Linked DNA regions of Homo sapiens: region 1 is linked to region 2. Evidence: promoter capture Hi-C in human tissues and cell types (Jung and others, 2019). All regions are on one chromosome and are shown on one strand. Each heading gives the region's core, a stretch centred on a gene start or on the middle of the fragment in contact. The rest is flanking DNA. Distances are from core to core; before and after follow the strand shown. Region 1 holds the start of LOC102724960 (a long non-coding RNA gene). Region 2 holds the start of MRPL42 (mitochondrial ribosomal protein L42).

Region 1 (6,076 bases), core at 732-3,231, 1.0 Mb before region 2:
AAAATATGTAGCCCCTAGGTGATCCACTTGGGAGTCTTTTGAGACTTACTTGTAACTGTGGAAGGACATGTACAACAATCACATGAGGTATGTGTAATTGCCAATAAATATATATTTCTCATCAGGAATGAGGATTTGGGTCACACCCAGGTTACACCACTAAGATCTGTGGAAGTGACTGCTGAAGGAGAGGAGAACTTGAAATTGGTATGGAAGAGGAAGATAAGTAGCAGTTGCAGCTTTGAAACCAACTGAGTGACAGGGATTATGGTTTGTCCCAATAACCCCCTTTGTCTAAGTTTTCCCTCAAGAAGTGAGGTCCAGAGGAATCAGAAAAGCTACTCCCAGAACATGAGAGGTTCAACAGAGAACCTGCTGGAAGGACTAGAAAGGAAAAATAGAGTTGAGGAAACCATGAAGAAGACAATATAGATGAAAATGCTTCTAAAGTTACAGAAATATCAGGAAATAATACTGATGAAGATGAAGCAGATGACAAAGATGAAGGAACCAAAAAGGAATCCTTTGACAAAATGCCTCCAGCATCCATTAAAAATGGCAGTGATTCACCTCCAAAACTCAAGATACAAAACAAAAATGCCAAGAAAATGCCTCCCAACCTGGCCTATTGAGAAGCAGCTAATGGCCAAGTAATCAAACTAGTACAGCATTTGCTAATGGCGATATGAAGATTTTCTAACAAAAAATACACAAGAGTTTGCCTGTAAGTCAGGTGAAGGGTTCCAGATCATCAACTAAAAATAAGGTTAGCTGTTATGCTAAACCTGTGACTGCAAATGAAATTGACAATGAAGTGGGACCCTCAGAGTCTAAACGAGAAAGAACAGGGGTGAATCTGTGATAAGATTATTGATGCTCTAGGCAAGGTGAAGCCACCTCTGTTAAGGTCTGGTGCTATCCCTCCTGACAACCATCAGCAAAATGGAAAAGATGCCATGAAGTTTCCCTAAGGTTTCCAAACGGTTTTTGAGGTCAAAAGAAGAAACAAATCTGCTATAATTCGATACAAAATGTGAACACTTACGCAGCCTGGGAAGTTAATTCATCTTGTTTTCCATGCAGGATCTCAACTCCCAAGCCTTATCTCCCCAAACTTCTCATTTTGTGTCCAACTTTAACCTGGATTAAAAAAAGATAAAAGAAAAAGATAAAGAAAACATCAAAATCATCACCTTGGCATGTCTTGACATGTTATGACTTATGTATATCATCTTGTTCTCCTGCTTTACAAGCAAAAGTATCTCAGTAAAGTATCATTTTTGTTTTGCTTTAAAGAGAAAGAGAGAGAGATGGAGAGAGAGAGAAAGAGAGAGAGAGAGAGAACCTGCTGTGAGGACTGTAGCTAGCTGACAGTCTTCTAGTATTATTCCTTGGAGATTCATCATGGCATTTATGATTTGGCCTTACCCTACCCAAACTTCCTCAATGGCTGAGCACAGCAGGGGTAATAGAGCCAGGCCACATCTGGTCAAATTGGAACCCCCTCAAATGGTCAGTCTTTGCTCTGTGGCTCCCTATTGGCCTGGCCAAGACATTCCTAGAGCTGTTATTATAATCTAAGGCTGTTCCTACTGAATCCACCTCCCTCTTCTCATGACATTGACATGGGTGTCAGATCTGCATCCCAGTCTCAAACTCTGCCTGCTAACTGCTTCCTCTTCCCTACAGCCATTTCCCCCAATCCATCTCTTCTATGTCTGTCTTGGTGTCTGCTTCTCTGTGGACCTGAACTGACCAAAGTCCCATTTACAGTAGGATGTCTAGCATCCCTGGCCTCTCCCACAAAGGCTGGCAGCACTGTCCTTCCAATCTTGAGGCAACTGATGACACCCTCCACTGATTTCTTTAATAAAATGTTTCTATTGAGAACCACTCACTCAGAGAATAAATCAAGATCACAAATTTTAGAGCTAGAAGAGGTCTTACAGATAAAGAAAAATTAAGGAACAGAGAAGTTTAATGACTTCCTCTATTTATTTTCTCCTTTCCTATAGTGCCGTCACCTTCTACTCATTCCCTAATCCAATTCTTGCACGTCAACTGGAACTGATAAGTTTTGAATAGTGAGTTGTAAGTATCAAAGAGGCTGCAAGCCTCAATTCAGAGAAAAATTTAGGAAATGATCACCTTCTGAAAGTGATGCTAGGAAAAAAAATCAGTATATGGTAGATAAAATTAGCCATCTGTATAAGTAACTCACCCTTGGACTTGGCTTTGAATTTATTACTTTTGTGATCAAGGTGCTTTCCAAGATTCCATCAAGTCACATGGATATAGTCTCAGGAAGACAATCTTCAAATGCGGAGGTACTGTGGAGTATAAGTAGTAGACAGTATTGTCTAAAAAAGATTCAAGAATTTTAGCTGTTTAGTTGTTTGATGAGTTTACAGCAGAGACCATTTTCACTTTAATTCAATAAATATTCATCTAATACATTTATTTACTGATTGCCTACTGTGTGCCAAGCATTATATTAAGCACAAGGCATACAATGGTAAACAGGACATGATCCTTCCCCTCAAAGAACTCATTAGTTGGAACATGTTATTTTTAATGGGGAGATATCACCCCTCAAGGGGGCAAAAAACCTTAGATATTACAATGGTCCTTGGCCCTCCAAAGAGCCACAGTACATAAACAGACATACAGTATATCTGTGATTTAAGATTTCATGGGGGTGGGAGGAGCAATGAGGAAAGTGGTGTCTAAAATGGCTGCTTAGGGGATCAATTATGAAAACAAGGCTAAGAAATACGGTCTAGAAGAAGAAAAAAGGAGAGAAAAAGAAAGAAGATGAAAGAGAAGGAAAGAAAATAAAAGTAGAATGATGAAAAAGAAAAAGGAAAGGAGGAAAGAAGAGATAATTAAAGGAGAAGGTATATGAAATTTTAAGACAAAAATAGGTTTGTCTACCACCAAGCCATATGACATATAGCTTTTTTTCCTTGACATTCTGAAATACAAGCTTATTCTTCTTACATTATTTCTGGCTCTGGCAACAAAGTATTAAAGGAAATGCAATACTGGAATGCCTACCGTTTATAAGAATTCCTTATCCTAAAGCATTCTGTTTCTTGCACAAATACTCCAAATGTCCGTACTTTTTTTCATTTAAAGCTTAAACTTACTTTGGGAGGCCGAGGCGGATGGATCATGAGGTCAAGTGATCGAGAGCAGCCTGGCCAACATGGTGAAACCTCATGTCTACTAAAAATACAAAAAAATTAGCTGGGTGTGGTGGTACGCACCTGTAATCCCAGCTACGGGGGGTGCTGAGGCAGGAGAATCGCTTGAACTCTGGAGGCAGAGGTTGTAGTGAGCCGAGATCACACCACTGCACTCCAGCCTGGGCAACAGAGCGAGACTCTGTCTCAAAAAAAAAACCAAAAAACCAAAAAACAAAAAAAAACACCCTGAAACTTGTTTGTATACATTGAAGTACAGTGAAATAAAAAATTAAAATTACACTTGTATGATAATTTCCTTATTGGGTTCCTAAAAACCCTATTATTCCATTTACCTGTAATACAAATTTTGTTAGCTTCACAATATTGAAGTCCTTAATTCATAGCAATTATTTATTTCATTTATCTGCCATAGTAGAGTAACCCATTTGTTATTGTTTGAGAGCTGATTAAATTTTTTTGCAGTTTGGATTTATCCCTAGGACCTTTCCCTTGCTCCGAGTATGAGTGCACCAACTTTCTGATTACTAGTCTGATTTCTTGGGTTATCTTGATATAAGGAAAAGAGTTCTCTTGCTAGCAAACATTAGTATTTCAGTGAATAGAAAAGTATTTCTATTAGCACTTTAAAATATGTTTTATGGTGGTATAATTAACAGAATAAAATACACATATCTTACTCAATTTGATGAATTTTGACAACTGTATATCCTGTGTAATTACCACTTGAAACAAAATATAATCTATCATCTTAGAAAGTTCCCTTGGACTCCTTTCAATCACTGTCCCCTATAACCACTTAGAAATTTCTAAAACTAGATGGTCTTTCTTGGATTTCATGCAAATAGAACAATACGGTTTGTATTCTGTTGTGCCTGGCTTCTTCTGTTTATCAAAATATTTGTGAGACTTACTCATGTTGTCAGGTATACCAGCAGTTTGTTCCTTTGTATTGCTGAGTTGTATTCCGTTGTAAGAATATATATCATTTTTAAATTGTATCTGTTTTCCTGTTGATATACATTTAGGTTATTAGTTTTTGGTTATTATGAATAAGGTTGCTCTAAACATTCTTTGTGTAAGTTTTCTTGTGAAGTTGCATTTTCGTGTCTCTTGGGTAACTAAGTGAAATTGATGAGCCATGAATAAGGTAGATGAAAGTACAATGAAAAGAAATTGCCAAGTACTTTTCCAAAGTATTTTACACTCACATCAGCAATGTGTAAGTTCCAGCTGTTTCACATCTTTGTTAATGTTTGGGCTACTACACTTTATTTCAGCACCTTGGAATGTCTGTGAAATGAAGTCCTCTGTAGATTTAATTTTCATTCCCTTGATGATCAAAGATATTAAGTACTTCCTCCATTTTTTTGTTGTGTTAAAATACACATAACATAAAAACCATTTTGTAGTGTACAGTTCCATCGTATTAAACACTGTACATTCATAAATGTGCAACCATCACCAGCATCTATCTCCAGAATTCTCTTTATCTTGTAAAACTGAAACTATACCCATTAAGCAGTAACTCCCCAGATCCCCCACCCCACCAGCCCCTGGCAAACACCATTCTACTGTCTCTGTACTTTTGACTCCTTTAAGTATCTCAGATAAGTGGAATAATATGGACCAGTACCATTCCATGGCCTGTTAGGAACTGGGCTGCAAAGCAGGGAGCAACAGGTGAGCAAGCAAAGCTTCATTTGTATTTACAGCCATTCCCCATCGCTCACATTACCGCCTGAGCGCTGCGTCCTGTCAGATCAGCGGCGGCATTAGATTCTCATAGGAGTGCGAACCCTGTTGTGAACTGTGCATGTGAGGGATCGAGGTTGTATGCTCCTTATGAGAATCATGATCTGTCACTGTCTTCCATCACCCCCAGATGGGACCATCTAGTTACAGGAAAACAAGCTCAGGGCTCCCACTGATTCTACATTATGGTGAGTTGTATAATTATTTCATATTACAGTGTCATAATAGAAATAAAATACACAAATGTAATGTGCCCGAATCATCCTGAAACCACCCCCCCACCCATCAATCTGTGGAAAAATTGTCTTCCACGAAACTGGTGCCAAAAAGGTTGGGGACCACTGTTCTATTGTATGTATATACTATATTGCTCATTCATTTATCTGTGGATGGAGACTTGTGATGTTTCCACATTTTAGCTATTGTGAATAATGCTGGTTGTGAACATGGGTGTGCAAATCTCTTTTTTTTCTAGCTCCATTTCTGAGTATGGAGAGACGTATTTTCAATTATTTTAGGTATATACCCATAAATGGAATTGCTAGATTATATAACTCTATTTTTAATTTTTTGAGGAGCCTCCATACTGTTTTCTGTAATGGCTCTACTATTTTAATTCCCATCAACAGTGCACAAGGATTCCAATTTTTCCACATCCTTGCTAATATTTTTTTTAAATAGTAGCCACCCTAATGAGTGTGAGGTGGTGTCTCATTATACTTTTGATTTGCATCCTAATGATTAGTTAAATTGGGCATTTTTTCATATGCTTATTGGCCATTTGTATATTTTCTTTGGAGAAATGTCTATTCGTGTCCCTTGCCATCTATTTACTTATTTAGAGATGGAGTCTTGCTCTGTCACCTAGGGTGGAGTGCAGTGGTGTGATCTTGGCTCACTGCAGCCTCTGCCTCCCAGGCTCAAGTGATCCTCCCATCTCAGCCTCCTGAGTAGCTGGGATTATAGGCAAGCACCACCATGCCTGGCTAATTTTTTGTATTTTTGGTAGAGATGGGGTTTTACCATATTGTCCAGGCTGGTCTTGAACTCTTGAGTTCAACTGATCTGCCCCCCTTGGTCTCCTAAAGTGCTGGGATTACAGGCATCAGCCACCA
Region 2 (5,555 bases), core at 104-2,603:
TTCATTCTTTTAATGCTAGTGTGGCTGTGTACACCCTCCAAGGTTCCATACACAAGATACTACATCATTTACAGTACTATCCTGTTTCTGATTAAATGAAATAGTTGTCTGCCCTGAGCCATTAATAATAATAATAATAATAAAGAAATATCAAACAAGGCCTATCCTTAGCCTATTACTCAATTGGAGGAACTCATAAATGCCCTCAAGTCCCAGATAAAATTTCACCATCTTATATGTGTACAAAGTCTTTAACTTTCCAACGTACTTTCACCACCATTTCATTTTGCTCTCGTATTAATCATGTGAGGTATCTTTATTCTGATTCATGAAGAAACTAAAGTACAAAATTTAAACGTCTTGCTTCCAAGGACTTTAGAGTCAGTCACTGCCAAATTGGGAAACTTTAAACAAGTCATTAACTAAACGATCCTCAGTTTCTCCAATGACAAAATGGGGAAAACCACAATCTTCATGGCCTGTTGTGAATAAATGACAAATAACCATTGTTAAATCTTGTTTTTAATAGTCTTCAATGAGTATCCGTGCCCTTCCCCCCAATAGTGATAAAAGAGAATTAGGACACAGGCCCTCTTATTTGCTAGTCTAAACCACTCACACTGATACCTTGCACTGCCAGTACATTAACACCGTTAACCCTGAGCTCATAGGTGTGCTTTTTAGTTTACAACCCACTTTCATATACAATATGTGCTCTGACTTTCACAAGTGTGTGAAGCAGCATCTCCATTTCAGATTAAGAACAAAGGCTCAGAGAGGTCAATCGATTACTTGCTCAGTATATCGCTGCTTAATACATGCGTGGGACGTAAACCCATGACTTCTGACCACGAATAAAACATCTTGGGGGAAATTAGGTCCCCTCTGTCCGAAGCCCAGAGAAAAGCACGCCCTGCTGGGAGTCAGATTATTCACCCCAGGAAGATCATTTCAGAGATCAAGTCCCTCAGCCCGGAATTCAACCCCAAAACAAAAGCTACAGAGCCTCTGAGGGTCAGAGGTTTGAGGAACAGGCTACCAAGAGCACCAGAACTCTTCGACCTAAAGGAGTCCCTAGAGCCACAAGCTGCATCACCTCCCCACGGGCGTCCGCCAGGGAACAAAGGGGGCGCTATAAGAAACGCGCAGCCACATGCCGGCTCTTCTGCAGGAAGGACAAAGGCTGGGGATGCAGGCAACCTCGCCCTGCCGGGAACGACAGGCGGGAGACCTCTACAACTGCCGACCAACACTGTGGGACTGCCCAGTTTCGAGGAAGTCCTCGACAGGAGGAGTAGAGGGAAGCGGTTACCTTGACGGCTTCTCACCACGAACCCGCCATCTTGTTTCAATCCTGGTCCCACGAAACAGCGCTGCGCGCGCCGTCCCAGCCCGCGGGGCATTCTGGGAAATGTAGTCTCCGCGGGAAAGCGGCCCGGGTGCAGAGAGAAAGGGAGGATTGTTGCTATGGACTTTTACCTTTAGTTGGGGAAGCGTGGCCGCAGTGTTACTAAGGTGCCCAGAAAAACAAAATCACTGCCCCAAACACATACCCTTAGAAAGTAACAAGCTTTTTTTTTTTTTTTTTTTTGTGAGGCAGTCTCATTCTGTCACCCAGACTGGAGTGCAATGGCTCCCTCACGGCTCACTGCAGCCTCTACCTCCTGGGCCCAAGAGAGCCTCCCACCTCAGCCTCCTGAGTAGCTGGTACTACAGGCGCACACCACCACACCCAGCTAATTTTTTAATATTTTTGTAGAGACGAGGTCTCGGTATGTTGCCCAGGCTTGTCTCAAGCAATCCTCCTGCCTCGGCGTCCCAAAGTGCTGGAATTACAGGCATGAGCCACCATGCAAACCTATAAGTACTTTTTAAAAAAATTATGTTAATATTCAGAGAAATCGTAGATTGCTCTTTAGTAGATGAGTTAAAGTTTCCCAGGGGAAGAGACATTCCAGAGAAGCCCTGAAATGTGGAGGCTAGGATTTGGACGTTTGAAATCAGAACCTGAAGAGAACCTCCACTCTGAAAACCTGGCACTGTGCCCTCAGAACTGTGCTGGCTACCTATTATGGGAGGAAGTAAATATGCAGAATCTTGGACCTCGCTTTCCATCTTAGGAGGAAGGAAAGACCTCTGGGCCTTTGCACTCTCTGTTCCCATTGCCAGCAATGTGCTTCTCTGACCTCTTCTCATGACCTTACAGGTCTTTCTCAAATATCATCTTAGAAAGGACCACACCATTAAAATAGCCTCACCCACCCTTATTCCATGCCCCGCTTTATTTTCCTTCAGAATATTTACCATTACCTGACTTTATATTGATTATTTGTTTGCTCGTTGAATGTCTCTTTCTTTTTTTTTTTTTTTTTGAGACGGAGTCTTGCTCTATCGCCCAGGCCGGAGTGCAGTGGCATGATCTCAGCTCACTGCAACCTCCGCCTCTCAGCTTCAAGCGATTCTCCTGCCTCAGCTTCCTAATTAGCTGGGATTACAGGTGGCCACCACCACGCCCAGCTAATTTCTGTATTTTTAGTAGAGATGGGGTTTCGCCATGTTTGCCCGGCTGATCTCGAACTCCTTACCTCAGGTGATATGCCCACCTCGGCCTCTCAAAGGGCTGGATTACAGGCGTGAGCCACCACACCCAACCTCGTTTAATGTCTCTTATGCTGGATAATGTAAGCTCCTTGAAGACAGAGACATATGTCTATCTTGTTCTTCACTGTATGCAAACCCAGCATCTCAGACTGTGCTTGGTCTCATTATAGGTCTCCAGGAAGTGTTTGCTGAATGAATGAAAAGACTAGATAACGCTGCAAGTATCCAAGACAGTAGATGATTGGCTGGTAAAGCAGAAGCGGTCGCCTGGAAATTCCCTTCTCCCATGATTTGCAAAATTTTGCTTTTGTATATTTTTCTAAGAAATAATCTATAGCTTTTATTATGTATTCCAGGGAATTGATAAACCCCTCAACAAGTTAAGAACCATATTCCTGAAGTGACTAGTATTGAAAGTAAGTGAACACACATCACATAGTAAAGAAAACTAAATACGGGCTGTGTAGTGTGTCTCCTCATTTCCCACGGAATATCAGGAGGCTAATCTTTGCTCTTATAGAAGCCCACAGAGGGCCCATCTGTGTCCTTTCCAGTCGTGTCCATCCTCCAAAGCCACCCATGATGTCTTTCTGGACTGTGCAATAGGAAGGGACAGAGAGGAGAAACAGATTTGAATGAGCAGTCAACTGGACTGGTTGAACATTCCCTGCGTAAAGTGTAAGAAGAATGGATCAAAGATAATTCCAGAGGTCAAGTCTTGATGGCTGTGAGCAGAGTGGGACCAGTCCCCAACAGGGAGACTCACTTAGTGGGACCAAGGAAGGTCTCACAAAGCTGAGACCAGAAAAGAAACCAACATTTTTGGGGGAAGAGAGGGGAGAGACAGGTTTAGGCTGAGTGAGGGAACAACTTACACAAAGGTTTAATGTGGTGGAAATAGCTTACCATATACTGGAGTAGGGTGGATAGTGTGGATGAGAGCGGCAGGAGATGAGATTTGGAGCCAGGTCATGTTGGGCTTCATAAGCCTTGGAGGGGTTAACATGGAGTTAGGACACAGGACATATGTAGAGATTAAATAGAGTAGGTGGTGCTGTGTGCCTGTAGTCCTAGTTACCCTGGGAATGGGAGGCTGAAGTGGGAGGATTGCTTGAGCCCAGGAGGTCAAGGCGGTAGTAAGCTATGATCGTGCCGTGCACTCCAGCCTGGGTGACAGAGTGAGCCCTGTCTCTTGAGATTTTTACATGAAAGAAGTGACATAATTTGATTTCCATTTTTAAAAGGTTACTCTGGCTGCCCTGGGAGGAGTGGTTTGGAGAGTGGCAAGACCGCAGGCAAGTCTAGCAAGGAAGCTACTGCAGTACTGCAGTCAAGAAATCATGTGATGGAGGGTGGTGGCAGTGGAGATGGAGAGACAGGAAGAGTCCAGATGTATTTTGAAATTGGAAGTGATGACTTAACTTGCTGATGGATTGATTGAGAGGGAGGAAGATACTTCAGGTGATGCTTTGATGACTAGTTGACAGTGGTGCCCTTCATAAGACAAGGAAGACTGAAAGAGGAACAGGTTTGGGGAGTCTGATGATGGTGGAAATGCATACTTCCGTTTGGGAGTTGTTGAGTTTGAGATGGCTCTGAGACACTCCAGTGGAGATACAAAACAAGTCAGCAGCCTGGGCAATATAGTGAGTGAGGCCTTGTCTCTACAAAAAATAAACAGAATTAGTAAGGTTGATGATGCACACCTGTGATCCCAGCTACTAAGGAGGCTGAGGTAGGAGGATCGTTTGAGCCCTGGAGGTTGAGGCTGCAGTGAGCTATGGTCATGCCACTGCACTCCAGCCTGAGTAACAGAGTGAGAGCCCCATCTCCAAAAAAACAAAAAACAAAAGGCAGGTACTTGAAGAGGTGTGTTTGGAGAGTAGAGGTTGGACTAGGTATAGAAAAAAAAAGATAAAGGGCCTAGAAGCTGGCCCCAGGGAATTCGAAGGCTTAGAAATCAGATGGAGGAGGATAACCTTTAGCAAGGGCCTCCCAGGAGTGGCAGTGAGAAAGGTAGAAGGAAAACAAATACTGTGATGTAAGAGTAGTTAAGAGAGGCCATGTCACAAAGTGTTCCTAACTTAAGAGGTCAGTGCTAGCAACTTAAAAAGTATAATTTCCAAAAATACAAACTTGAAATACCAGCAAATAACTTATATTGGCCTACATAAAAGTGCTTTATTTTATTTTATTTATTTATTTTTTTAAGACGGAGTCTTGCTCTGTCACCCAGGCTGGAGTACAGTGATGTGATCTCGGCTCACTGCAACCTCCACCTCCTGGGTACGAGTGATTCTCCTGCCTCAGCCTCCTGAGTAGCTGGGATTACAGGTGCCCACCACAATGCGCAGCTAATTTTTGTATTTTTAGTAGAGACGGAGTTTCACCATGTTGGCCAGACTGGTCTCGATCTCCTGACCTCAAGTGATCCGCCCACCTCAAGTGATCCGCACACTTCACCCTCCCAAAGTGCTGGGATTATAGGCATGAGCCACTGTGCTCAGCTACAAATGCTTTAAATTCATGCTAGTAAAATGACAAACAGACAAAATTCTAGAACTTTGGAATTGGCATCAAATGGCTTCCATTTAAAAGAGGATTGCCTTTTCTTCTGTAACTTCCCAGAAAAAAAAGTCATTCTTTGTATCAATCAGAGAGCAAAGACTCCAGAGCAATCTTATGACCAAACTATTAGGAATGATCTTTCTGGCTGGGCACAGTGGCTCACACCTATAATCTCAACACTTTGGGAGGCCAAGGCAGGCGGATCACAAGGTCAGGAGTTCCAGACCAGCCTGACCAACATGGTGAAACCCCGTCTCTACTAAAAATACAAAAATTAGCCGGGCGTGGTGGCACACGCCTGTAATTCCAGCTACTCAGTAGGCTGAGGCAGAAGAATCACTTGTACCTGGGAGGCAGAGGTTGCAGTGAACCGAGATCACACCACT

The links. The method cuts DNA at HindIII sites, captures the fragments that hold promoters and counts their contacts. A contact is called where the count stands out against the background at its distance.
Region 1: a fragment that was not itself captured here is called in contact with the fragment with the promoter of MRPL42 in region 2 in 1 of the 25 tissues and cell types used here (bladder).

Annotation. Positions count from the first base shown.
Region 1 is chr12:94,468,581-94,474,656 of GRCh38, reverse strand. It overlaps LOC102724960 (a long non-coding RNA gene), which reads right to left and starts at 2,340. Exons shown (of 3, transcript XR_945224.3): 1 at 2,222-2,340; 2 at 1,046-1,140. The HindIII fragment of the contact is 7,278 bases long and covers 1-5,620 here.
Region 2 is chr12:93,463,312-93,468,866 of GRCh38, reverse strand. MRPL42 (mitochondrial ribosomal protein L42) reads right to left here and starts at 1,353. Exons shown (of 6, transcript NM_014050.4): 1 at 1,313-1,353. RefSeq lists enhancers at 1,132-1,401, 1,462-1,521. The HindIII fragment of the contact is 7,004 bases long and covers 1-4,866 here.